Linked DNA regions of Homo sapiens: region 2 is linked to region 1. Evidence: promoter capture Hi-C in 16 types of primary human blood cells and fetal thymus (Javierre and others, 2016). All regions are on one chromosome and are shown on one strand. The core of a region is centred on a gene start or on the middle of the fragment in contact, and the rest is flanking DNA. Distances in the headings are between cores, read along the strand shown.

Evidence for each region. The method cuts DNA at HindIII sites, captures the fragments that hold promoters and counts their contacts. A CHiCAGO score of 5 or more calls a contact.
Region 2: a fragment that was not itself captured here is called in contact with the fragment with the promoter of ZNF771 in region 1 in 3 of 17 cell types (naive CD8 T cells, fetal thymus and total B cells); the score reaches 7.9 in naive CD8 T cells.

Annotation. Positions count from the first base shown.
Region 1 is chr16:30,406,341-30,409,040 of GRCh38, forward strand. ZNF771 (zinc finger protein 771) reads left to right here and starts at 1,266. Exons shown (of 3, transcript NM_001142305.2): 1 at 1,266-1,324; 2 at 1,705-1,854. The coding sequence starts at 1,714. RefSeq lists silencers at 990-1,169, 1,192-1,401. The HindIII fragment of the contact is 8,204 bases long and covers 5-2,700 here.
Region 2 is chr16:30,121,380-30,124,079 of GRCh38, forward strand. MAPK3 (mitogen-activated protein kinase 3) reads right to left here and starts at 1,841. Exons shown (of 9, transcript NM_002746.3): 1 at 1,661-1,841; 2 at 445-627. The coding sequence starts at 1,830. RefSeq lists a silencer at 1,833-2,202. The HindIII fragment of the contact is 5,672 bases long and covers 1-2,700 here.

The DNA of each region.
Region 1 (2,700 bases), core at 16-2,515:
ACCAAGCTTGGCTAATTTTTGTATTTTTAGTAGAGACGGGGTTTCACCATGTTGGTTAGGCTGGTCTCGAAATCCTGACCTCAAGTGATCCACCGGCCTCCGCCTCCCAAAGTGCTGGGATTACAGGCATGAGCCACCGCGCCCGGCTTTGAAACGATTTTTTTTTTTTTTTTTTTTTTTTTTTTTTGAGACGGAGTCTCGCTCTGTCGCCCAGGCTGGAGCGCAGTGGCGCGATCTCGGCTAACTGCAAGCTCGCCTCCCGGGTTCACGCCATTCTCCTGTCTCAGCCTCCCGAGTAGCTGGCACTACAGGTGCCCGCCACCACGCCCAGCTAATTTTTTGTATTTTGTTTAGTAGAGTCGGGGTTTCACCGTGTTAGCCAGGATGGTCTCTATCTCCTGACCTCGTGATCCGCCCGCCTCGGCCTCCTAAAGTGCTGGGATTACAGGCGTGAGCCGCCGTGCCCGTCCGAAAAGATTTTTTAAAAGTAAAAATACCCTAAGGGCCAAACAAGGTACCCCTGTGGACTGGATTTAGCTTTGGGCTGTTGTTCACCTAGGCTACTGATTGTCAGGGATGCTATGACATCCTTATCGTGTAACTTAGGCAAATCAGTTTACCTCCCTGAACTTCAGTGAGCTCATCTGTAAAATGGATCAGGACCCATCGTTATGCGGATCAAATGAGACCAGGTATGTAAGACGCTGAACAGCGCTGGCGCATGGTAAGCACCCCACGCATGACGCGACAGCGGTAGCTTGGGTGGATGTTGAATTGGTTAGGATGTATTCAAGGATATCCCAGAGGCCAGCGGAATAGGCGAAGCCGAGAAAGATGGAGAAAAGACGGCAGAGGAGATAAAGAGGGAATGGAAGAAGTGAGGAGGCAACAGGGTCCGCCCTCCAGGCGGGGCGCCAGGGAGAGGCCCAGGCCGGGGCGGGAGCGCACGTGGCCTATTTCGGGCGGAGCAGAGGCACTGGGCGCAGCGGAGACCTCCAAGCCGGCCCCAGGAGACGGGCCGCGAGGTTAGGTTGGAACTCGGCGGCAAGGACCTTGAACGCCGGGCTGGGGCGGCTCCAGGTGCTTGGGAGTCGGGGGACTGCGGAGGACGCCAAGTCTGAGCTCGCCGCCCTCTCCGAGCCGTTTGGGCCGGACGCCTGGGTCCTTCGGGCTCCGCCCCAGGGGGTGGGGCTATATGTTCGGACCAATGACCGGCCGTCCCTGCGGTCCCGCCCCCTCCCCGCCCCCGGAGCCGCGGCCTCGCTGAGTGCCCAGCCGCCCGGCGCCCAGGCCTGGGGCACCGCGAGTGCCGAACCTTCGGCTGGTGAGTGCGCACCCCCTCCCCGGGGTTTCCGCCCCGATCCCGCCTCCAGCCCGTGCCCCAGAGCTCCAGGTCGCCGACCCGGGCCCTGGGGAGTGACTCAGCGCAAGGATGGTGGCGACTTGCGGGGGCTGGAGATTCGAACTGTTCAAGGCCTTGAATGCTGGGATGAGTGGGGTGAACGCGAGCCCTCGGAGCTGGTCCCGGGGCTGTGCCAGAGCGTGGGGCCGGGCTGGGGTGGACGGGAGAGGACCAGATTCGGAGACCAGGGCAGGGCGGGAGAAGCCACGGCTGCACTGCCTTGCTGGGCCAGGGCCACGGTGGGCGGGGGGGGGGGTGGGGGGGGGCGGGTCCTGAGCTTCTGATCCAGCTCCCCGCCTCAGGACACCAAGATGCCTGGCGAACAGCAGGCAGAGGAAGAGGAGGAGGAAGAGATGCAGGAGGAGATGGTGCTGCTGGTGAAGGGTGAGGAGGATGAGGGTGAGGAGAAGTATGAGGTGGTGAAACTCAAGATCCCCATGGACAACAAGGAGGTATGTGTCACACACACCCTGGGGCACACTGTCCCCAAACCTGGTCCAGGCCCAGCCTCCCTCAGATAGAAGCCAGGGATCTTGCCCCTACTTTTCCCAGAATCTCGGATCTAAAACCTCAGGATTGGCCCATCCTTCTGCCCTACTGCCTGGGCTTCCATCATACAAAAGTCACGCCTACTGTCCCAGGCTTCCTGCTGGGTGCAGGAGATTAAACTCCGTCCTTGGATCCCCCATGGAGCTTGATGTTAGACTGAAGGGTAACCACACAGTTAGAATCCCGTGTGATGGCTGCAGGTACAGGGGGATGATGAAGCCTAGAAGTGGGAACTTAACTCAGATTTAGAGGTTGGGGAAAGGTCAGGTTAGTTCAACAGCAACAGTAACAATAGCTAACCCTTGCCTAGCATTTTCTATGTGCCAGGCACTGTTCTAAGCACCTCGATTCTATGATGTCGGTAGCATTTATTCCATTTTACAGATGAGGAGACTGAGGCCCAGGGCAGTTTGGTAACTGGCCACAGGTCTCAAAGTAAAAGGATGGCTTATGTGAGACTAGTAGGAGTCTGGGGTCAGAAGTGGGGTGATGGACCCAGTCAGAGGAAATGGCTCTTTTATTATTACTGTTGTTATTGTTTGAGACAGGGTCTCATTCAGTCACCCAAGCTGTAGTGCAGTACAGCTCACTGCAGCCTTGACTTCCCTGGGCTCAGGTGATCCTCCCACCTCAGCCTCCCAAGTAGCTGGGACTACAGGCATGCACCACTACACCTGGCTAATTTTTTTTTGTTTTGTTTTGAGACAGAGTTTCGCTCTGTTGCCCAGGCTGGAGTGCAGTGGCGTGAT
Region 2 (2,700 bases), core at 1-2,500, 280 kb before region 1:
GATTACAGGCGTGAGCCACCACGCCCAGCTGACAGTTTTCTTTCTCCCTGTCTCCCTTCCGGTCTGGGCAAGGAGGAAAGAGAGGAAAGAATCATCCATTCCTTAGCAAGAAGTGACTGTGGGCAGAGGCCAGGTCATGTCTCAGAACTGCCGACGTCAGAAGACACCACTCCCATAGAGACCATCCTGCCTAGCCCTTCCCCCTGGGGCACAGAGCAGAGAACCCACTTGCTCGAGGCCATACTGCCTGGGCCGCTGCAGGCCTGGGTTCATCAGAGGTCTCCAAGTCCTGTTACACTGTGGCTTCCCCTCTGCAGGAAAGTTTATTTTACTGGGTTTGTTTTGGAGGGTGGTGGGTAAGATGGAAACAGAAACCAAGCAACGGGTCCCCAGCCCAGCTGCGAGGCCGTGCCTGACCAGCCGACTGGCCAAGGTGAAGGATACACATCTCTCATGGCTTCCAGGGTGGACGCCCGCAGAATGTCTCGGATGCCGATGACATTCTCATGGCGGAAGCGCAGCAGGATCTGGATCTCCCGGAGCGTGCGCTGGCAGTAGGTCTGATGTTCGAAGGGGCTGATCTTCTTGATGGCCACGCGAGTCTTGCGCACGTGGTCATAGGCCGAGCTGAGGGGACCGGAGAGAGGCTGCTGCTGTGGCCTTACAAAGGGGGAGTCCGGGCCTGGTGGCCCCACCCAGGCCTTGGCAGGGAGGGGAGAGAGCAGGAGCTGGCTCTGGTCAAATCATAAACAATGCTGGTTCCTTCCTGCTGTGGAGGCCTGGGATCTCCAGAGAGAAAGCTGGGGACCAGCCAGGCGGCCCTTCGGTGACTTTACAAACAGAGGAAGAGACTGACCGCTCACTGACTTCCCCTCTCCTCAATCCCCTTCCATTCTACTGGCCCTGAACCCTTCGCCCCCATTCCCAGGAAAGGCTCCTTAACCCAAGACAGGTCCGGGGGTGCAGATGCTGGGGACACACCATGGGGCAAATACTGGGAAGGTGGCAGCCAGGGGAGGGGCAGGAGAGAATGGACAGGGCAGGGGAGGGTCCCAGGGTGAGGGATCCGGGCAGCGGGGCTGTCCCAGAGGGATAGAGGCCCAGAGCACACGGTGGGGCCGGGGGCACTCACAGACCCCTCCCAAAACATGCAGGTGGCACTCCTGGCCGCCTCATCTCTCTCTGGGCCCCTGGGGTGGTGGGGCCAAAGCCCTGCCCCACCCTGATCTCGGCTCTTCTCCCCCAGGCTCCCTGGCACTGCCTCACAGGGGGAATCCAAGACACCCTTTCCCCCAAAACGGGCCCTCCACTGCCTCTTCACTAAGGATGTCGCCTCCCCGAGAGTACTCATCCTCTGGGCCTCGCCCCGTGTCACTAGGGTCCCCGCGGGCCCCCACATGCACTCGGATGCCCCTCCCATCATTACAGAAGGGTGGACTCAAAGCCTCCAAGCCTGCTCCCCTGAGGACGTAGGCAGCGCCCCCTCCCCCAGAAAGCACTCAGGGGCCCCCTCCCTGGGACGCTCCCGATCATCCCGAGTCTCCTGCCTCCTCGGGACGCTCCGCGTCTCCACGTCCCGGAAAGCGCTCGGCGCCTCCTCCTCCTCTCCCGCGAAGCCCCCTCCCCTGAGGGCACCCCCTCCCCCGGAACGCCCCCTCACCTGACCATGCCGTACGCGCCCTCGCCGATGTACTGCAACTGCGTGTAGCGCGGGCCCACGTCGAACGGCTGCCCCTTCACCATCTCCACCTCCCCCGGGACCCCCGGGCCGACCCCCTCGGTTCTACGGGGCTCCCCGCCCCCGCCCCCCTGAGCCGCCGCCGCCGCCATCTCCACTCCTCCCCTCCCACCGCCCTCCTCCCCACGGCGGCCCCGCCCGAGGCCCCGCCCCTTCCCGCCTGCCTGTCACCCGCAGGGCCGCGCGCGCCAGGCCCCGCCCTTGCCCCGGCCCCGCGTGGGCCTGGAGCTGTCACGTGACCCGCCCCGCGCGCGCCCGCCCTTCTTGCCCCAGGTTCGGGGGCCATGGGTCCCTGCGGGCTCCGCGGCCTCCAGGTCACCGGGAGGTTCGGCAGCGCCGCCTCGGAGACTGTCCTCACCCTCCCCTCGATGGCGAAGCGGCCAGGGCGTGACCTACCAGAGCCACCCAGCCAATGTATGCGGCAGCCCACCAGAACCTGGGCCCGGGATCACCCTAGGTTAAAAATAATGTTCTAATAAATGGATCAAATTTTACAGATGGAGAATCTGAGAGTTAGGTTTACTAACTTGGGTAAGGTCACTAGTAGTGACAGCTGAGACTCAAAATGGTGTCTTCTGACACAGAGACTCTTTCTAATTCCATGCCTCTCAGAGTCCTAGACTGTTTTTATTTTATTATAGAGACAGGGTCTCTCTCTGTCGTCCAGGCTGGAGTGTAGTGGTGCAATAATTGCTCACTGCAGCCTCAACCTCCCTGGGGTCAAGTGATCCTCCCACCTCAGCCTCCCAAAGAGCTGGGACTACGAGTGCGCGCCACCACGCCCTGCTAATTAAAAAAAAAAATTGGGGGGCTGGGCACGGTGGCTCACGCCTGTAATCCCAGCACTTTGGGAGGCCGAGGTGGGCAGATCACCTGAGTTTGAGACCAGCCTGACCAACATGGTGAAACCCCGTCTCTACTAAAAATACAAAAATTAGCTGGGCATGGTGGCACGTGCCTGT